6 separate regions of the Homo sapiens genome follow, and regions 1, 2, 4, 5 and 6 are each linked to region 3. The links are contacts of gene promoters, found by promoter capture Hi-C in blood cells and fetal thymus (Javierre and others, 2016). All regions are on one chromosome and are shown on one strand. The core of a region is centred on a gene start or on the middle of the fragment in contact, and the rest is flanking DNA. Distances in the headings are between cores, read along the strand shown.

What was found. The method cuts DNA at HindIII sites, captures the fragments that hold promoters and counts their contacts. A CHiCAGO score of 5 or more calls a contact.
Region 1: a contact is called between a fragment that was not itself captured here and the fragment with the promoter of CD96 in region 3, in 5 of 17 cell types (naive CD4 T cells, naive CD8 T cells, naive B cells and 2 more). The highest score is 6.6, in naive CD4 T cells.
Region 2: a contact is called between a fragment that was not itself captured here and the fragment with the promoter of CD96 in region 3, in 4 of 17 cell types (activated CD4 T cells, naive CD8 T cells, total B cells and 1 more). The highest score is 6.2, in activated CD4 T cells.
Region 4: a contact is called between a fragment that was not itself captured here and the fragment with the promoter of CD96 in region 3, in 1 of 17 cell types (non-activated CD4 T cells). The highest score is 6.6, in non-activated CD4 T cells.
Region 5: a fragment that was not itself captured here is called in contact with the fragment with the promoter of CD96 in region 3 in 1 of 17 cell types (naive CD8 T cells); the score reaches 6.5 in naive CD8 T cells.
Region 6: a fragment that was not itself captured here is called in contact with the fragment with the promoter of CD96 in region 3 in 10 of 17 cell types (naive B cells, naive CD8 T cells, non-activated CD4 T cells and 7 more); the score reaches 18.5 in naive B cells.

Annotation. Positions count from the first base shown.
Region 1 is chr3:109,719,935-109,723,455 of GRCh38, reverse strand. The region is part of intron 2 of LOC124906267 (a long non-coding RNA gene); the gene reads right to left. Among named protein-coding and RNA genes, the nearest start is that of MIR4445, 120 kb to the right of the region's middle. The HindIII fragment of the contact is 2,886 bases long and covers 814-3,521 here.
Region 2 is chr3:110,309,244-110,313,104 of GRCh38, reverse strand. No RefSeq gene overlaps it. Among named protein-coding and RNA genes, the nearest start is that of MIR4445, 710 kb to the right of the region's middle. The HindIII fragment of the contact is 1,513 bases long and covers 1,820-3,332 here.
Region 3 is chr3:111,540,368-111,544,097 of GRCh38, reverse strand. It overlaps CD96 (CD96 molecule), which reads right to left and starts at 1,901. Exons shown (of 14, transcript NM_005816.5): 1 at 1,789-1,901. The coding sequence starts at 1,849. It overlaps LOC105374039 (a long non-coding RNA gene), which reads right to left. Exons shown (of 3, transcript XR_001740846.1): 3 at 2,095-2,163. The HindIII fragment of the contact is 7,700 bases long and covers 373-3,730 here.
Region 4 is chr3:109,806,020-109,809,586 of GRCh38, reverse strand. The region is part of intron 2 of LOC124906267 (a long non-coding RNA gene); the gene reads right to left. Among named protein-coding and RNA genes, the nearest start is that of MIR4445, 200 kb to the right of the region's middle. RefSeq lists an enhancer at 1,587-2,786. The HindIII fragment of the contact is 7,875 bases long and covers 1-3,567 here.
Region 5 is chr3:110,328,974-110,332,489 of GRCh38, reverse strand. No RefSeq gene overlaps it. Among named protein-coding and RNA genes, the nearest start is that of MIR4445, 730 kb to the right of the region's middle. The HindIII fragment of the contact is 6,518 bases long and covers 1-3,516 here.
Region 6 is chr3:109,738,057-109,741,811 of GRCh38, reverse strand. All of the region lies in intron 2 of LOC124906267 (a long non-coding RNA gene), which reads right to left. Among named protein-coding and RNA genes, the nearest start is that of MIR4445, 140 kb to the right of the region's middle. The HindIII fragment of the contact is 1,213 bases long and covers 1,835-3,047 here.

The sequences.
Region 1 (3,521 bases), core at 1,007-3,506, 1.8 Mb after region 3:
TACCAGGAGAGTCTAGGATTAACTTTCACATAGTCCAGTGGATGTGGTCTGGTAACTTGAGTGCAAATTAAGGTCCTGATGCTCAGTTCATCTGATGTCAAATGGATAAGTGTTGAAACACACACACACACACACACACAAATTCATAGCCCTCACCTCAAAATCAGAATTCAGTCTAAATCAAAATCAATAAATGTTTATTGAATAACTTTTATGTGACAACCACTATCTAAATACATCTTAGGCATTTTCTCATTATTATTTACATGTATCTTTGAGATAAGTACTATTTTTTGTCACTTTCTATAGGTAGTTTACCTTCTCAAGGTCATCTTATTGTTGAAGCTGGCTGCTAGAATCCTTGACATTTCATCTGTATTCTAATAGGAAGAAGACAACCACAAAGAAAAGTGTGGCTGCTGTTTTTAGAAACATTTCTTAGAAGTTGCACACACAATTTCAGCTTACATCTCATCATCTAGGATTTAGTCACATGTGTACACCTGCAGCAAGGAAGTCTGGAAAATGGGGTCTTTATTATAGATAGACATTTACCTAGCTAAAAATCAAGGGTCTGGGGCTAAGGAAAAGGAGGAAACAAATTATAGACAACTAGCTGTCTTTGCCATGGGAGGAGTTTCCCAAATTGATCTCGAGGAGGACATGATGCTGAGAAGCAGTTAACATCTGGATGATTCACAGGGATAAGGAGATCAATTCTTCCTTGGATTCCATGTACTATAGGATAATGAACCTAGAAATGAATAAGGGGAGTTTAATACTTCACTTATATATACATAGAAGGTCAAAGCTTATGGGAAAGTGAAAACAGAGAAAAGTCCTTATTGCTACTAAACTAATCATTTACACATTTCACTTTTCCTATAAAGAGGCAAAACAGTGTATCTAAGGGAAGCAAGTGTTTCCAGACACTGATTCTTGAAACATCTGAACAAATTTCTTGGTGGGACTTTACATAGGAGATATAAGTCGTGTGGCATGAAGTCCTTGTTACCTTAAACAGTTTATTCAGTAGAAAGAAATTATCTTAATTCCATTCAGCTAAGATGTAACTGAAAGGTAACCAGTCTTAGTGTATTAAAATCCCCCAAGATATGTATCCTCTAAAAAGATAAACCTAAAATTATATCTAGTAGTAGGATATTTTACATATATGATGGGGCTAAAGAGAATTCTGGTTGCCCTTCAAATTATATCTCCTGAAGGTGAAAGACCTCTACATGGAGAACTCCAGAACACTGATGAAAGAAGTCACAGATGACACGAACAAATGGAGAACCATATGCAGAAGAGTAATACTGGACCCCTTTGTCTCACCATATACACAAATTAACTCAAGATGGATTAAAGACATAAATGTAAGACCTGAATCTATAAAAAATCTTAGAAGAAAACCAAAGAAAAATTTTCTGTGCATTGGTCTAGGCAAAGAACTTGTTACTAAGTCCTTAAAAGGAAACATAACAAAAATGAAAATAGACAAATGTAACTTAAACTAAAAGCCTTCTGAACAGCAAAAGAAATAATCAACAGATTAAACAGATAACCTACAGAATGGAAAAAATGCAAACAGTTTATCAATCAAAGGGCTGATATTCATAATCTATAAGAAATTCAAATAACTCAACAAGCAAAAACAAATAACCCTATTAAAAAGTGAGGAAAGGATATGAACAGAACTTTTTTAAGGAAGATATATAAGCAGCCAACAAATGTGAAAAAAATGCTCAACATCACCAGTCATCAAAGAAATGCAAACTAAAACTGCAGTGAGATATGATCTCACACCAGTCAGAATGGTTGTTAGTAAAAAGTCAAAAAACAACAGATGTTGGAGTGGATATGGAGAAAAGAGAACACGTCTACACTGTTGGTGGGAATGAAAATAAGTTCAATCTCTTTGGAAAGCAGTTTGGAGATTTCTCAAACAGCTAAAAATAGAATTACTATTTAATCCAGCAATCCCACTGCTGGGTATCTACCCAAAGGAAAATAAATTATTCTATCAAAAAGACACTTGCAGTCATACGTTTACCAAAGCACTGTTCACAATGGCAAAGTCTGGAATCAACCTAAGTGTCCACCAACAAATGATTGGATTTAAAATGTGGTATATAGATGCCATGGAATATTACTTGGCCATAAAAAAGAATGAAATTATGTCTTCTGCAGCAACGTGGATGGAACTAGAGGCCGCTAGCCTAATGACTCAGAAGAAGAAAGTCAGAAGCCACACGTTCTCACTTATAAGTGGGTGCTAAATAATGGGTACACATGGACATACAAATTAGAATAATAATCATTAGAGACTCCAATAGGTGGACAGGTGGGAGGGGAGTGAGAGATGAAATACTACCTATTTGGTACAATGTACACTATTTGGGTGATGGGTATGCTAAAGGCCCAGACTTCACAACTACACAATTTATCCATGCAACACAACTTCACCTGTACCTCTAAATCTATACAAATAAAAAATAATAATAAAACAAATTTTACTACCCTGAGATGCATATTAAGTTATTAAAGTGGCTGTGATTGATAGATTCAGAATAGGGAATTCTGTCTCATCTTCTTAATAAATACCTCTTATATAACTGTTTTTCCTTTTGTATTACAGTGTAAGGTAGTAACCCAAGTGCTTTATACATGAACCTAACTAGGGTGGGTCTGCTGATGAGTATCATGGATAAAGGCGGATGGGATCACCATGAGCTAGTAGGAAAAGAAGTGTGCATTTGTGTATATATGTGTTCCTTATAATGAGTAAAGAGCAAAATACTTAGCTGCATTGTTTGCATGCATGTGTGCACATGCATGTGTTTATGACCACACATTTGGAACATGTACAGATCGAATGGGTAGCCATTTGATATGGTTTGGCTATGTCCCCACCCAAATCTCATCGTGAATTGTAGCTCCCATAATTCTCATATATTGTGGGAGGGACTCGATGGGAGATAATTGAATCATGGGAGCAGTTTCCCCCATACTGTTCTCATAGTAATGAATAAGTCTCATGAGATCTGATGGTTTTATAAGAGGAAACCCTTTTCGCTTAGTTCTCATTCTCTCTCTTTCCTTGCAGCCATCATGTAAGATGTGACTTGCTCCTCCTTGCTTTCTGCCATGATTGTGAGGTCTCCCCAGCCATGAGGAACTGTGAGTCCATTAAATCTCTTTCCTTTATAAATTACTCAGTCTCAGGTATGTCTTTATTAGCAGTGTGAGAACAGAATACACCATTTATGTGCTATAATTTGAAAGACCCTTCTTGGTTGCTATAAAAATACCTCCCTATTCCATTTAGCTTCAGGTTTTATCATTAGAGTCAGAAAGTTTGAACAAGAAAGCAAGAACAGTCTTTCCAAAGGTCCATGAAAAAGCATGCTATTCTGAAGCCACCCTTAGCTCTTGCTGGTAGGTGATAAAATTATCAGATTAATTAATAGACACCGGAAAGAAAGGCCAGACTGCTAGAAGGGATTGTAATAAAGGAG
Region 2 (3,861 bases), core at 1,327-3,826, 1.2 Mb after region 3:
TGTTTAAGTGTATGTTGGGATGACTAGAAAATCTAGGCTTTCTAAAACAGATGATAGTAACTACTACCATGATGATAACAGTGAACTTTGAATTTATTTTGAAAGTTAATCCAAATGAATATCCTGAGAGACTGGATGAAAGAAAGAGAGGAATCAGAAATGCCCCCAAGTTGCTTGCCCTGAGCAGCTGGAAGGATGAAGATGTCTTCAAATGGTATAAAGAAGACTGCAGGTGGAGTGAGAGCAAGTGAGTGGTGGGGAGAGGAAGAAGTTCACTTATCGACAGGACAAATTTGAGATATTCATTAGACATCTCAGTGGCAGTTGGTTATAACCCTCTTTTCCCATAAAGAATAACAGCCCCTGGCTCAAGGGCCACCCTCCCCCTCTCTCATCTATGGCAGCCATACCTAATCTAAAAGGCCTTTATTCCTGCTGACATGATGCAAGTCAGACCTTTTTTAACACACAGACTTAGATAGCCAATACTACCTGGCTGAAGTTTCAGAGTCACAGTAACACAATTGATTTCCTTGCTAGGCTACATGTAAAGGTGGCCAAATTCTTCCTAGTCATCTCATTGTAGTCAAATATTTCCTCAAATTAGATACTGTATCCATTCTTAGGTAGGGTAGTCATGCCACAAAAGCCAGGTCATTCCAACAGATAACATATTTTCCTGCAAAATAACTATGGTTTTCTGTATTTTTCTAAGATAGGAAGGAGCCATGTACTGTCTCAGAAACCGGTTTCAGGCTTACCTGACAGCAAACTTTTCCCAAATTGCTTTGTAGCTGTCAATCTACTCTCAATGGCAACTTAATTTTTTTTTAATTGGTAGGGTGCGAGAAAGTAGAACAGCAGGCATATCTGACGTGAGTGAAGACTACCCTTCTAATTGTCTAATGAGAAAACACTTCATTAGCATGAGGAGGACAGAGGTCTGAATCTTTTTTAACAATTAAATCTCTGCATCTTGCATGTTATTCCTCCAAGAGAATTAACATATTCTCTCTAGCATCTACTAGAATTTAACAAAGAGTCAGTGAGATTTCACAAGAAATTATTTCCTTGACACCTAGATGCCTGGGAGTACTTAATAAATAATTGAAATAACATTCAAAGAACGTATACTAAAAATACAACAGTTCTTCATTTCAAGAGATGTGTATTGAGTGTGTCCAGACTTTTGTTCTGTTAAAGAAAAATGTTTAACATTTTTTTTGAGAGTGGCAATAACCCATTTGGTAATAAGAGACAAGAAATGTGTGTGTAATTTATGCTGGTTAGTAGATTGCCTTTGTTTGTCTGGCTTGTGGCACATAAACAGATGTCAAGAGAGAGTCTCTGTGCATTAATCTGAGTATGGAAACTGCTGACATAGCAGCTAATATAGCTGTATTATCCATCTACATGCTTGTTCTTTCCTGGTTTATACAGTAGGGCTTTTTGTCTGAATATAAATCAATAGAAAGGGAACTTTAGAGCTATTTAAAATTCTAGCCACTTGCACTAAAACATGAACCCCTTTGGTTATGTAATACTTCCACACATTTACTCATTTAGCAAAACCACAACTGTCTTCCTTTCCATCATCCTGAATTTGTGGGTCCGAAAGAACGCACTTAAAAATACATTTCCAAAAAAGTCATACATTCTTTAAAAAAGGTAACTATTTTACAAACAGCAAATTATTAAGAAATTCTTTACTGGTAAAAAGATGATTTTAATAGAGTTTACCTATTAAAGCCTATAAGAAATAGCATGCTTCTTTTTCAAGCTACAGCCATGTCGAATTGTACAACTTTCCACTGAAGCTTACATGTGCTACAGAATGCAAAAATGCTACACTTTGTGAAGTACTTGAGGAATTTGTGCTTACTGGTTTCTCCAATTAGCAATTTTTTTTGGTGTACTCTTTTTTAAAAATTTTATTTTAAGTTCCGGGGTACATGTGCAGGTTTGTTACCTAGGTAAATGTGTGCCGTGGTGGTTTATAATAAAGTAATAGAAATGAAAATGTTTTGTTTTGTTTTGTTTTTATGAGACAGAGTCTTGCTCTGTCACCCAGGCTGGATTGCAGTCATGCAAACTCAGCTCACTGCAACTTCCACCTCCCGGGTTCAAGCGATTCTCTTGCCTCAGCCTCCCAAGTAGCTGGAATTACAGGCGCCCACTACCACACTCAGCTAATTTTTTGTATTTTTAGTAGAGACGGGGTTTCTCTATGTTGGCCAGGCTGGTCTCGAGCTCCTGACCTCAAGTGATCTCTCTGCTTCGGCTTCCCAAAGTGCTGGGATTACAGGCGTGAGCCACTGCACCTGGCCTGAAAACGTTCTTAAGATAAATGATGAAGTGTAAAATAAGATTCCTGTTGTTTAGGATTCTCCAGCTTGATAACTTTTTTTTGTACACACACCGTGGAAAAAAGTTGGCAGAAAATAAGTCAGGAAACAAAATATAAATTTACTTATACTAAGTTTGACCTATATGACCACAGCTTTTCCATTGCCATGTTGCAAGACTGATGAGTATATATTTATTCAAATAATCATTCTCTCTTTCCAAATAACCCCATTGTGCTGTTTCTGCTTTTTTGTTGTTGTTATTAGAATTACCTTGATATCATGCAGCGTGCTTTCTTAAATAACCTCACTGGTAAGAATGATTTATTTTCTGAGGGTGGCTTTGAGAAGCTGCTCAGTCACTTAAGGGTGGCTAGTGATAAGATGAAATGATCAATGTGATTAATATTAATTGGGACAAAATAATACAGTGATTCTTAAAGTGTGATTCCCCAGATTAACAGCCTCAGGATACCATGGGGCTCTCATTCAGACCCAGAGTGCTCTGTCTACCCTCAGAGTTTCTGATCATTTCGTTGAGGGTGGGACCTGAAAACGTACTTTTCTAAAAAGTTTCCAGGTGATACTGATGTGGTCTGGAGACCACATTTTGAGAACCACTGAAAGAATATGGGATCTTAAAATTATTATCCTGAATTCTTTTATTATTTTAAACTGCTTTTGAAGGCAATTTCAAAGAGTTCTTAAAAGTCAGTATTATTAGGAAAAGTTTAAAACCTCTTGAAGTTATTCTTTTTATAGGAAAATATTCTGTAAATTATTTTGCCTTGGTTTGTAAACAAAGCACCCCAGGGCTTTATCGCTAGCCCTGGAATGCCAGATTAACACAGCCTGGAAGGAACCAGGGTTATAGAATGGGAATACTTAGTGTCACGTCTGCCCAGCCACTTTTTCTCTGGTATCACAAGAATGGGGACAGATGATTTTGAGTTCAGCTTTCTAACCTCCAGAATGTTGCTAGAAGCTTAACGTGCATCTTTATTTTTCTATCCAAGAAAAAAAAATAAATCTGAATTAAATTTAAACATTCAACTAAGTTAAATTTGGGAGATCTGATTCTTAGGAATTGTTAAAAATCTGATCATGTGGCTTAACTATATGAAATTCTTCAAAGGACCTCCCCCTATTGGGGATTGTGTGTCTTCCCTGTGAGATACTGAGTTCCATGAGACCAGAAATCATTTCTGTCAGGAGAATTGTTGTGTATTTAGGGATTCAAATGGTACGTAGAACAGAATAGGCACCCTGTGAATTTATTTTGGATATTGGAGTCCAAGATCTTTGATACATAATGCTTTTCATGTTCTGTTCCTTTCTTAGTCTTCTCTCTATCTCTTATCACACTATACTTTGAATCATACAGAAATACTGATTTTGCTTGGCCTTTCTGAAAAGTGTCATGATCTTTGTCACCGACACAGAACCAAATGACACTATTTTTAATATTTGTTGACAAATGCTGTCATAGTCTTTGGAATACTAAGGTAGAATCAGG
Region 3 (3,730 bases), core at 652-3,151:
CCAGAGTCTGTGGTCTTTCTATAACCCTCATAAGTATAACAGTAAAACTCCAGCCAAGGAAGACAAAGAGACCTTTAGAGACCAAAGAGAACTTTATTTAATTCAGGCATCCAGGCCCACAGCAGACTCATGCCCAAAATGGCTGCTGACTCTGACAAAGAAAGCAGGCTTGCTTATATGTCGTTTGAGGTGGGAAAACAAGGCAGGATACAGGTTTCAGGCAAAGACAGTAAATTATTTAACCCGTGACAATTCTGAGAAAACTTACAATTTAGTTATCTTAACCAGTCAATCTTGAAGCTAGACAGAGATGGGGTAAGGTAAAACAGGAGTTACAGAAATATGTGGGGGTCTGGGGGCAGGCAAGAAGCTTGGAAGGTTGAGATAAGCTCACAGCTGCAACTTGTTAGCAATGCTGGGAGGGGCTACTTAAATTTCTTAGCCTACATATAACTTCTAAGTAACCTATACTTAATGTTAACTATTACCTATGTTATGCTTATTATTTTAAACTTTATTATTACTTATTTTATTTTATTTTCCTTCCACATAACTTCCAAACTGTCTCCCAAATTCAGTCTAGTTGATTAGAGTAAGAAATTTCACTTTCAATATACAAGGATTGAAAGGACCTCATCTAACCTTAGGTAGAGGTTCCACTTAGTATCACCTCTAATCGATGGTCTGAAATACTAGACATAAGTAGAGTCTCTTTCCCATCAGCAGTCTGACTGAGTGATACAGGACACTTAAAATGTGTTAAGCATTGAGACTGTGACATGCCTTCAATAGTGTTGGCCTCAGTTTTAGAATTAACATGGAATCCTGTTACAGAAATGATATATATTATTGTGACAAGTACCACTGAAGCTCACAAAAGGAAAAGATAAAAAGATGACAAGCAACTGAGAAGAAACAAGCCTCTTAAAAGTAAAAGTACTTGACAAATGGGAATTATCATACTTCTGTGGATGCAAAAGTTTGGTAGGCAGAGGTTAGTACAGTTTAATGTAACTTCCTGTGAGCTATCCTTTGCCTGAAAATATGGCTCTGATCCTATCTACAGCATTATATTCCAAATCTCTTTTGATTTAGAAATTCTCCTTAATATTTTCATAGCTATGTCTGAAAAGCACAGTTAATTCTTAAGACACTCAGGCTTACTATGATACTCTCATACTGTGGAATACAGAACTAATCTTGCTTCCTTCTCTTTTTAAATAGGCCCATTAGGCTCTCGTTCCCACTGTCATAAGGATTCCACTTTGTCTCCCAGGTTCATACCTACACATGCCTCATTAAAATTCAACGTGTTTTCAACTCCCAAAGACCTTAGTATTTGGATGAGAAATACTTGTTATATCCAAAAGAAAGAGAGTACTTGAGAGAGAAAAAAGTTAAACAAGGATCTCTGAGCGTTGATGGCTTTGTAATTTTTAATTTTTCCGCAGTTGTTTTGGCTACCATTTGGAGAGCATTTCATTTCCAAGAAACACAATTTGCCAATTACTCCAGAGATCCTGTTAGAAAGGAAATGGGTGAAAATGCCTCAGAGCAGTGGCACAAATGACCCATTCCCTTCTTATTTTTAGTGTTCATTAGTAATCATTTCTAGATTCTAGCATCTCTCTTATACCTGCCGCTTAAATACATAACTGAAACCCTTAGTAATGATTTGTCCTTTGGTGATCAATTTCAGCAGCAGTCACAAGGCATTTTAAATGAACAGAGGCCCCATCCGCCCCTAAAGCGGCCCATCCGACAAGAAGGGACAACTGGAAGTCTTACCCTTGACAAAATGTATCTGGATGATGTAATAGACAGCACAGTATTTCCATTTTTTCTCCATTGTCTTCTGAACACCTTACACCAGCATTTCTGTAATGATCACAAAGTCAATTGATGTTTTCAAGCAAACTCCAGCCACCCACTTCGTGCTAAAAAACCCGAACTCTACCACACACGCCTGGGTCTGTTTATCACTTGGCAAGCCCCCAGGAAATGAAACGTAGACAGGAAAGTAATGTGGTTCAGGACTGAGTATAACGTTCGACAGAACAATGTTGAAATTGTTCTCTGAAATTTGTGTATCACCTTATTTAAGAGACTTTTCAGTATCCAAAGAGTCTCTTATTCAGGATCTCTGTGTCAGTCAAGCTGCGTCTAAAATCCAAACAAAGGATATCACGCAGAGCAGTTGGCAATGTGCTTTTTATACATTTTTTTCAAGAGCACAAAGTCATTTAACAAATGTGAGCTTGGTGTTTTTCATAATAGTTTTTCTGTTCAATCTTAAGATATGTTTTCTTTCCAGAATTGCCCTGGGGTGAAAGAACAAAGAATTAACACATTTAATTTTAATAAAATCTGAAAAGTAACAGGGAATAGTGTCAGCTATCAAACCAAATTTTATTGTCTCTCCTCTTGCAGGGAAATGCACATTTCCTGGGAGTGGAGGAGTGAGGGCTACTTTTCTACCCCTCGTCTGGGAAGACGAGGGAAGGTTGGAGGTCAGATAGGGAAGTCTCCCACCAGGTTGGCTGGAGGCCATTTTTGTTCACCACAGAAGAGTTTATCCATGCCTAAGCCAAAGCAAGGCAGTAACAATCAGAATCCAAAGGCAGAGAATTCCCACCTCAGTGAGCTATTAGGCTTATTACATCTGCCTAGTTACTTCTATTTACAGAGAACCGCAAACAGGTTTCAGGAAAGTGACCCCTTGGTAAAAATGTCTGGCTATTCGTAGAACACGATGACTGTTCCCTGCTATGATTCTCTGATTTAATTGTATTAGTTTTTCAGCCTGAGATAAAATAGGCTGTCATCACCCTCCAACATTAAGAAAACAAGCATTAGACTGAGGACTACTGTAAGTTTGATGGACAAAGAATAACTACAAATAAACATGTGTGTCTTCATACAACCGTATGAATGATTAAAATATCCTGTGACCCTAATCTCATTACTAGAATATACGTACCACCTAGCAAGACCAAAGACAAATGAAAAGGCCAGTTGTAATCCTGAGATGGGAATTCTTTTCAGGTGAGGTGGAGATAATTTTCGTCAGGTTGTCATCATGTATACACCAATCTCTCCTATGCAAGGACTCGTGGTGAATATGGACGATGCTAAGACAGAAGGAAATGCTTTTGCCATTCAGGAGATTAAATTTAGATGGGAGAAGAGAGGTTTTCATGTAAATAAACAAGGGCGACTGTCTTCCTGGACGTCCAGATCACCCCCTATACCACCACTGCAAATACTTGCCATGATAATTGCCATACTTATTCAGTATTCCTCAGCTAATGATTTCTTGCAGAATTTAGATGTAGTTACTGCTTGCCTAGTCCAGTGCTCCCCAAACCTTTATTATCACCCCTTCCCAACTTCCCATGAGTTTCAGGTCACTGGGGATATTGGGTCAGGTAGTACTGACAGTGATTTTCCAGGGAAGGCCTGGGAACTCAAAGTCCTTTATAGAAGGTCAGGAAGAGACATAACTGCTCTGGGTAGCTTCATCTCTTCCCATTGCCCCTGGAAATTCTAGTAAATCAAAGTTTTATGAAGCATAGCAGCAAAAATAGTCCTGGAGATGCACTATGAAGATCCTGATTTGCACGTTGGTGTCCCTATTAAATCAGGACACATTACAAGCCTGGAGAAGGGATTCTATGATCTCGTTCCATTTTTCATATTAAGAGGAATTTACCTAAGTAGAAACCAATTC
Region 4 (3,567 bases), core at 166-2,665, 1.7 Mb after region 3:
GGCTTCCTTGCTCCTCAGCTTCCAGATGGCCTATTGTGGGACCTCACCTTGTCATCCTGTGAGTCAACACTCCTTAATAAACTCCCCTTTATATATACATGTATTCTATTAGTTCTGTCCTTCTAGAGAACCCTGACTAATACAGCTACCCATGTTAAATGATAGGACAGAACCTTCAGGAATCAAGAACAAAATGAGAAAGGTCATAGTGAGCAAAAATCCCTTCTCTGATCCAACTGGAGGATCAATTATGCCATACCTTCCATGCTTAGTAATTACTGTATTACTTTTATTGGGATACAGTGCAGCCTAGTGTTTACAAATGTTACAGAAATCTTATGCCTCAGCTTTCTGATTAATAAAATGTGAACAATATATCTCTTATGTTAGACTATTGCAGGGATTAAATGAGTTATCACCTAAAATGTTTTTTAAAAGTGCCTAATACCTATTTGCTATTATTATTTATATTATTAGTAACAATAATTTGTAACATCATAATAGAGAAAACTTGAACACAATCTCAAACTCAGTTGGGCAAAATATAATTGTTATGGAATAAATTGTGTCCCGCAAAATTTATATGCTAAAGTTCTAAACTACAGTACCTGAGAGTGTGACAGTATATAGAGATAGGGTCTTTAAAAAGGTAATTTAGGAAAAATTAGGTCATAGGGGGAGCCCTAATCCAATATGAGTGGTGTACTTATTAAAACATGGAGATTAGGACACATACACACACACACAAAGACCATGCACACACAGTAAACACACAGGGAGAAGACAAGACAAGAAAGGCCTCAGGAGAAATCATCCTACTGACAACTTGACTTGGACTTCTAGCCACCATATTTTTGAGAAAATAAATATCTGTTGTTTAACCCATAGGGTCCACATACTTTGTTACAACAGCTCTAACAAACTAATATAATAATGCATTTCTTTATTTTCTATAAATGTACTTAATACTTACTTCTTGTCCACTTCTTGCCAAGATAGTCAAATATCTATCTCAGCAATTCTTGAGGACCCTCTACTACCAGGGTAATGAAGTATGTGAAGGTCTTAGTAGCACAATGACATAGGGTGGCTCCTGGGTCATTGGCCATCTGTCCAATGTTTACTACCTAGACACTGGAGTCTGTTCCACAGGGTCCCTCCAAATCCAGCCTTCTTCCTGACCGATGCTTCTGTGCACCACACTGAGGATGGAGCAAACTTTGGCGAGCCTGAAACCCACCAACATTCCTCCTGAAGTCTTGCTTCCTCCACACAGCACTGATAGTTAGCAGGGTCCTGCTGTGGCCTTTGAGGAATCCCTACAGTGGTTCTGTGTCCTTGCACTCCTATCTGGAGATATCACAGATCTCCAGATCTAGGAGTAAGGAAACTGGGTGTAAGGAAACTCTTCACTGTGAGTAAAAGTAATCCCTTTTCTTTTATTTCATGTAGGAGGCATTCTCTCTCTCCTCTCTTTCAAGGGCGTCTAGCACAACTTTATCAAAAAGTATAGACTTAGAAAATGAAAACCTAGGTTGGAAGTAAAACTTCAGTTTTTTCAAACTCAAAACATCCTTGAGACCAAGAAGCACAGAGTCTGGCTACCTACTGAATGAAGGATATATGAATGAATGATAGAGACATATCAATTGATATCATTAAAGATACCCTGAAGTGTTACCAGTAGTTTTTTACACAGATCCTTAAAGCCATAAATGCCGTGAATTTTTTTTTTTGACAGTCTATCTCTGTTGCACAGGCTGGAGTGCAGTGGCGTGATCTTGACTCACTGCAACCTCCACCTCCTGGGTTCAAACGATTCTCCTGCCTCAGCCTCCTGAGTATCTGGGACTACAGGCGCCCGCCACCACACCCAGCTAATTTTTTTTGGTATTTTTAATTGAGACGGGGTTTCGCCATATTGTCCAGGCTGGTCTCGAATTCCTGACCTTGTGATCCGCCCACCTCAGCCTCCCAAAGTGCTGAGATTACAGGCATGAGCCACAGCGCCTGGCCTATTTTTATTTTTTTACGTGTTTTCTTCCTCTCTCTTTCTCTTGTCAGCTTATTAACATGCTTATTCATTTGTAAAAGGTGACAGCATACCCAAGCAGAAAAGGCGAGATGTTTCTACCAGCCTGGCTCCTCTTCTCTGGCCTCTATTCTTTTGGCCTAAGAGATAGACAATACATCAAGCAAGGTCCTTATTTGCAAGCAAAATAAGAAATCAATCATGACTGAATAAATGGGAGGATAAAAAAGAGTTTATTTTAAAAACTAATAGGTAGCTCTCTGAATCACCAGGAGAGCGGAACCATCTTGCTCAGAACAATGAATCTTGAACAATGCCCCAATTGAGGCTGCAAAACTGGGCTGATGAGGAAACTACTTCTGCCCCCACAAAACTAGAACACTGAGTGTCCTAGATAATGTTGTCACTGATCTATCAGGAACACAATTGTGCTGTAACCACTTCCTTTATCAGAGAATGAGTCACTTCCCGTGTTTTTTGGTGTCACTAACTTCCTACTCAAAAACTGGTATGAGTGCATCCAATATAGAGAGCCCGAAGTATTTGCCCAAACCCTTGCTTCAAATCAGGCTGAGAACGTATCTGGTATTTTTAGTTTTTATAGTTTATATAGTTAATGTTTCTAAAGTTTAAAGTTTGCTCTTTCTCCCACCAAGATTAATCTCACGTAGAAAGGGGATGCAAATGCTAGGCAGACAAAAAGACTGAAAAAAAAAAAATCTCCACAACAGAAAGACTGACACAAAGCTGAAAGAGAAAACAAGACAGGAAGTTAGGGTACAGTTAGAAATGCCTTTGGTTTCAATTAATAAAATATCTGATTAGGTATTTTTAAAAAGTAATTTAAAAAATAGAGGGAGTCTTTTTTGTTTAGTCACAGAATGCAAAATCTGAAAGTAAGAACTTGTTGCTTTCATTAGCTCAGGAGCTCAACAATGTTAAGATTAAGTCAAAAGTTCACTTGTCCTTTTCCTCTTAATTCCAAAATGACTATTTTTGCTTCAAATCAGGTAAAAGAGAGAGAGGATAAGAAGTGTCAACAGACTTCTCTATACATTTCATGGGCGAGAATCACTGGCAACCAGTCCATAAAAAATGTATCACTGAAGCCACAAGCTAGAGAAATATTCTCCTATATGTGAAGTAACACGATCCTACAAGGTTCTTTTAAAGGATACCAATTAAAACTACTTTCTAACAAATTTGTTGCTCTTTTACTGCGAAAAGTATATGCATCCCAACCTTGAATGATAAATTTTATCAGTAAAAATCTTTATATTTTCAAAAATTTAACCATTAATTGTGTATGGACTCATACTCAATAGAAAATATAAATGAATACACATTATGTCACAAAATTAAAATCATGGAAATCAAGAGAGAGTCACCTCGTTTATAACTGCCTTCCCTATTGAAAGATATATCTGCAGAATGGATGCACCACCTCACCCGCTGTTTTATTTTTCTCTACAATCAGATATAGTTCATAGGTCTTGGCAAGAGCAATCCCATTTACTTTAACTGTTATTAGAGTG
Region 5 (3,516 bases), core at 370-2,869, 1.2 Mb after region 3:
GGACCACCGTCCTTCAGACCCCAGAATGGTAGATCAATGGACAGCTTGCGCTGTGCACCTGGAAAATCCACAGACACTCAACACCAACCCATGAAAGCAGCGAGAAGTGGGGGGATATACCCTGCAAAGCCACAGAGGCAGAGTTGCCCAACACCATGGGAACCGACCTCTTGCATCAGCGTGACCTGGATGTGAGACATGGAGTCAAAGGAGATTATTTTGCAGCTTTAAGATTTGACTGCCCTGCTGGATTTCACACTTGCATGGGGCCTGTAAGTCCTTTCATTTTCGCCAATGTCTCCCATTTCAAATGGCTGTATTTATCCAGTGCCTGTTCTCTTATTGTATCTAGGAAGTAACTAACTTACTTTTGATTTTACAGGCTCATGTGTGGAAGGGACTGACCTTGTCTCAGATGAGACTTTGGACTATGGACTTTTGAGTTAATGCTGAAATGAGTTAAGATTTTGGGGGACTGTTGGAAAGGCATGATTGGTTTTGAAATGTTAGAACATGAGATTTGGGAGGGCCAGGGGCAGAATTATATGGTTTGTCTGTGTCCCCACCCAAATTTCATCTTAAATTCCAATATGTTGTTGGAGGGACCCCATGGGAGGTAATTGAATCACAAAGGCTGAACTTTCCTGTGCTGTTCTCGTGATAGTGAGTAAGTCTCACAAGACCTGATAGTTATTATAAAGGGGAGCTTTCCTGCAAAATCTCTCTTTGCTTGCTGCCATCCATGTAAGACGTGACTTGCTCCTCCTTGCCTTTCACCATGATTGTGAGGCTTCCCCAGCCATGTGGAACTGTAAGTCCAATTAAACCTCTTTCTTTTGTAAATTGCCCAGTCTCAGGTATGTCTTTATCAACAGCATGAAAATGGTCTAATACAATAAGTTCTCATATTTTAGCTTCCATGTATAAATAAGAACATACAGTATTTGGTTTTCTATTCCTGCATTAGTTTGCTAAGTATAGTGGCTTCCAGCTCCATCCTTGCTTCCACAAAAAATATGATCTCAATTTTTAATGGCTGCATAGTGTTCTTTGGTGTATATGTACTACATTTTCTTCATCCAGTCTGTCATTCATGGGCATTTAGGTTGATTCCATATCTTTGCTTTTGTGAAGAGGACTGCAGTGAACATTCACATGCATGTGTCTTCATAGTAGAATGATTTATATTCCTCTGGACATATACCCAGTAATGGGATTGCTGGGTCAAATGGTAGTTCTGCTTTTAGCTCTTTGAGAAATCACCACAATGCTTTCCACAATGGTTGAACTAATTTATACTCCAGCCAAAAGTGTATAAGTGTTCCCTTTTCTCCACAATCTCTCCAGCATCCGTTATTTTTTGACTTTTTAGCAATAGCCATCTGACAAGTGTGAGATGGTGTCGCATTTCTCTAGTAACCACTGATATTGAGCTTTTTTTCACGTGCTTGTTGGCTGCATATATGTCTACTTTTAAAAAGTGTCTGTTTATGTTTTTTCCGTATTTCAATGGAGTTGTTTATTTTTCTCTTCTACATTGGTTTAAGTTTCTTATAGGTGCAATATATCAGGCCTTTGTCAGATGCATAGTTTGCAAAATGTTTCTCCCTCTGTGTAGGTTGTCTGTTTACACTGTTGGTAGTTTCTTTTTGCTGCGCAGAAGCTCTTAAGTTTAATTACATCCCAGTTGTCAATTTTAGCTTTTTTTGTGATTGTGTTTGGTATCTTTGTCATGAAATCTTTGCCCGTACCTATGTGCAGGATGGTATTGCCTAGGTTATCTTCCAGGGTTTTTATAGTTTTGGGTTTCACATTTAAGTCTTCAGCCATTTTAAGTTAATTTTTTATAAGGTGTAAGGAAGGTCCCGCTTTAATCTTCTGCATATGGCTAGCCAGTTATCCCAGCACAATTTATTAAATAAGGATTCATTCTTCCATTGCTTGTTTTTGTCAGCTTTGTCAAAGATCATATGGTTGTAGGTGTGCAGCCTTATTTCTGGGCTCTCTATTCGGTTCCACTGGTCTATGTACCTGTTTTTGTACCAGTACCATCTTGTTTTGGTTGCTATAGACCTGTAATATAGTTTGAAGTCAAGTAATGTGATCCCTCCAGCTTTATTCTTTTTGGTTAGGATTGCCTTGTTAGCTCTCCAGGCTCTTTTTTGGTACCATATGAATTTTAAAATAGCCTTTTCTAGTTCTATTAAGAATGGCAGAGGGACTAAATAGTTTGTGTAAAATAGAAGCTAACAGGTCTGACAGAGCTGAATAACACGATGCAAGAATTTCACAATGGAATCACAAGTATTAACAGCAGAATAAGCCAAGTTGAGGAAAGAATCTCTCAAATAAGACAGTCAGACAAAAATGAAGAAAAAATAATAAAAAGGAACGGACAAAACCTCCAAAATGTATGGGTGTATTCATCATTCTCACAGTGCTATAAAGAACTACCAGAGACTGGGTAATTTATGAAAAGAGGTTTAATTGACTCACAGTTCCACATGGCTGGGGTGGCCTCAGGAAACTTATCTCCAGTCATGGAGGAAGGCAAAGGGGGAAGCAAAGCATATCTTCCCATGGTGGAGCAGGAGAGAAAAAGCAAAAAGGGAAGTGCCACACACTTCCAAACAAACATGTCTCCTGAGAACTCATTCACTATCATGAGAACAGCAAGGGGGAAGTCCACCACCCTGATTCAATTACCTCCTACCAGGCCCTTCCCTTGACACATGGGGATTACAATTCAAGATGAGATTTGGGTGGGGAAACAGAGCCAGACCATATTATACTGCCCCTGCACTTCCAAAATTTTATATCTTTCTCAAATTTCAAAATGCAGTCATGCCTTCCCAACAGTCCCCTAAAGTCTTAACTCATTCCAGCGTTAACACAAAAGTCCAAGTCTAAAATCTCATCTTACACAAGGCAAGTCCCTTCTGCCTACGAGCCTGTAAAATAAAAAACAAGTTAGTTACTTCCAATATACAATGGGGGTACCTGCATTGGATAAATGTTCTCACTCCAAAGGGGAGACATTGGTCAAAACAAAGGCACTACAGGCCCCAAGAAGGTCTGAAAATTAGCAGGGCAGTCATTAAAATTTAAAGCTCTGAAATGAGCACTTTTGTCTCCATGTCTCATATTGAGGGCACGCTGATGCAAGGGGTGGGCTCCCAAAGCCTTGGGCAACTCTGTGTCTCTGGCTTTGCAGGGTACAGCCCTCATGGCTACTTTCAGTGGCTGGCATTAAGTGCCTGCAGCTTTTCCAGGCACACAGTGTGAGGTGTTGGTGGATTTACCATTCTGGGGTCTAGAGGACAGTGGCCCTCTTCTCACAGCTCTCCCATGGGGACTCTGTGCTGGGGCTCCAACCCCACATTTCCCCTCTGCACTGCCCTAGTAGACGTTCTCCATGGGGGCTCTTCTCCTGCAGCAGACTTCTGCCTGGGCATCCAGGTGTTTCCATACATCCTCTGAAATCTAGATGGAGGCTTTCAAACCTCAACTCTTGCC
Region 6 (3,755 bases), core at 1,192-3,691, 1.8 Mb after region 3:
ACCAACAGCCATGGGAAACTGAGGGAAAAGATATCTGCACTTTGTCTCTGATCCCCTCTCAGTTCCCCAAGCAGAGGAGTCAGGACTTGAGAAGAGACAGAAACGACGTCTAATGCAAAGACAGACCCCCACCCCTGAATTGAGAGAGAGGAAGAGAATAAAGGCATCAGAAGAGACCCATGCACAAACGTAAGTGTGAACTTTTAAAAGAGCAAAAAAAAATGACAAATAATAAATGGTGTTGGAAGGATGAGCAAATGAAAAAAGAGAATGTGCAAGGAATTAAAAAATTGAAAGGAAAGTTTCAAGAAGTATTAGGGAAACAAATTGACTAACGCACCATTGTAATCTCTATTTTCACAGATGTAATCACTGAAGTTGTTCAAGTACATTTCATAGTTTACCTGAAGTAAAAAAAAAAAAAAAAACCCAAGGGCAGAAACAGTCCTAATTTTTACTTGACTCTTTGAGTCACCGTCCCTCTAAGGATATGGTCTTTTACATTTAATATCCCTTATAAAAATATTAGTGAGTGATTGAAAACCACAAAGCAGGCATATTTCCTATGAGGAGGTGAAAAAGTGACAAAAGCGTTTTCCGAACATAGCAGAAAGAAAAAGCCAGACTTTTGCATTCAAACGCCTACACAACAGCATGTCACTCAATTAACCTGAAACACTTATTTGTAAGTGACATTTTATAAATGTATTCTGAAAGGGAACCAGTCTAGTCTTCATTTTTGATAATGGATGTTAATTCAGGAGCTAAGTATTGAATTCTAATAACATAAAACTAGCTCTCTATCTTATATCCACAGTTCAACTTATATTAATAATTATAAATGAAGATGGTCTTTTTGGGTAAATATATAAATAGATGCAACATATGTAATGGGCAGGACAATTTAGAACCATCCCTTTCCCATCCCCAGGTATTAATTAGGTTAACTATTTTCTTTTTTAAGAGCTTACAAAACTCATTAAGAAGCAGACAAACTGGAATTCCACTGTCAAGTTTGTTCATATTTAAAATTATATTTACATTCAAATGCACTTTTTAAAGTTTAAAGGGCATCATTGTTTTGTAATTATTACATAAATTATATTATATCATATTGCTGAGTAGGTCGTACTGGCATTAGAGATGTGTCTAAGATTACCTCAAAACACTTTTGGCCAACATTCATCCTCATCTTTTAAGATGGCTCTAGTTCACTTTATAAATAAAACAAAGCTTTTCTAGTATTTTCAGCATGGGTGGTAACTGCTGGTGTCATGTTATCATAGCAGCAGTCTACATGTGCATGTTCATGCTTAAGAACATGTACATTAACTCACATGTTCAGAAAGCGCTTTTCTTTAAAACAGCAATTAGAGGCTCACATTCATAAAACTTTGTTTTTTTTTTAATTTTATTATTATTATACTTTAAGTTTTAGGGTACTTGTGCACAATGTGCAGGTTAGTTACAGATGTATACATGTGCCACGCTGGTGTGCTGCACCCATTAACTCGTCATTTAGCATTAGGTATATCTCCTAAAGCTATCCCTCCCCCCAACCCCCACCCCACAACAGTCCCCAGAGTGTGATGTTCCCCTTCTTTGTTTTCTTGAGAAGAGTCATATTTCAACTCCTAAATTTAGCATTAAGAGCCCTTCAATAGCGTGCCTTATACTCTTTCAATCTCATTTCCAAATATTGATTTTTCTCCTTTCTGCCCCTTCTTATCTACTTATCTTTTCTGTTGATCTTTCCTTTCTTCACACTTTTGTTCAGTTCATCTTCTCACTGGCGTAATTTCCCTCTGGCGTAATTCTATTCATTATTTAAGCTTCAGTTTGTTTTATTTTTTCAGCTTTATTAAGATATAGCTGACAAGTAAGTCATATAATTTACAGCATACAATGTGATGTTTTGATATATTTATACATCTTGAAATGATTGAATCAAATGAATTAACATATCCATCACCTTGAATAATTATCTTTTTGTGGTGAGAACATTTAAGATCTACTCTCTAAGAAATTATTACTATTAGCTAGGGTCACCATGCTGTACAATAGATCTCCAGAACTTATTTAACTTGTCTGTCTGAAACTTTGCACTCTTTGACTAACATCCCATTTTCCCTTTCCCCAGCCACTACTAACCATCATTCTACTCTCTGCTACTATAGTTCAACATTGTTAGATTCCACATATAAATGTGATTATGCAGTATTTGTCTTTTTGTGCCTGGCTTGTTTTGATTAGCATAATGTCCTCCAGGTTTGTTACAAATGACAGTATTTCCCTCTTTTTTAAGGCTGAATAGTATTCCATTGTGTATATACATCACGTTTTCTTTGTCCGTTCATCCACTGATGAACACTTAAGTTGGTTCCATATCTTAGCTATTGTGAAAAATGCTGCAGCTTAACATGGGAGGGCAGATATCTCTTTGAGAACTAATTTCATCACTTTTGGATACATACACAGAAGTGAAGTTGCTGGATCACATTAAGTCTTATTTTTTATTTTTTTAGAAACCTCCATACTATTTTTTATGACTGTACTAATCTACTATTCCTACCAGCAGTGTACAAGGGTTCTCTTTCTTTCATATCTGCCTCAATACTTGTAATCTTTTGTTTTCTTGCTAATAGCCATTCTAACAGGTAAGAAGTGATATCTCATTATGATTTTAACTTGCATTTTACTAATTGTTAGTGATGTTGAACATTTTTTATATACGTTTTGGCTATCTATATATCTTCTTTTGAGAAATGTCTATTCAGGTCTTTTGCTAGTGTTTTCATCACATTGTTTTCCTGTTATTGGGTTGTTAGAGTTCCTTATATTTGGGATATTAACCCTTATCAAATGTACAATTTTCAAATATTTTCCCCCATTGCCTAAGTTATCTTTTTACTCTATTGATTGTTTTCTTTGCTGTGCAGAGGTTTTTAATTTGATGCAATTTTACTTGTGCATTTTTGTTTTTCTTGCCTGTGCTTTTGGAGTCATATCGAAAATAAAATTATTGCCCAGGCTAATGATAAGAAGCTTTTTTCCTGTGTTTTCCTCTAGTAGTTTTACAGCTTCAGGCCTTAAATCTAAGTTTTTAGTCCATTTTGAGTTGATTTTTGTATACAGTGTGATATGGTTTGGCTTTGTGTCCCCACCCAAATGTCACCTTGAATTGTAATAATCCCCACATGTCAAGGGTAGGACCAGGTGGAGGTAATTGGATCATGGCAGTGGTTTCCCCCATGCTGTTCTTGCGATAATGAGTAAGTCTCACAGAACCTGATGGTTTTATAAGGGGCTGTAATTTCCCCTGCTTGCACTCATTCTGTCCTCCCCCTCCATTAAGAATGTGCCTGCCTCTCCTTTACCTTCAGCCATGATTGTACATTTCCTGGGGCATCCCCAGCCATGCAGAACTGTGAGTCTATTAAACTTTTTCCTTTATAAATTGCCCAGTCTCAGGTATTTCTTCATAGCAGTGTGAGAATGGACTAATACAGTAAATTGGTACTGAGATAGTGAGGCACTGCTTTAAGGATAACCAAAAATGTGGTAGCAACTTTGGAACTGGGTAATGGGCAGAGGTTGGAACAATTTGGAGGGCTCAGAAGAAGACAGGAAAATGTGGGAAAGTTTGGAACTTCCTAGATACCTGTTGAATGGCTTTGACCAAAAATGCTGATAGTGATACGGAAAATAAAGTCCAGGCTATGGTGGTCTCAGATGAAGATGAGAAACTTCTTGGG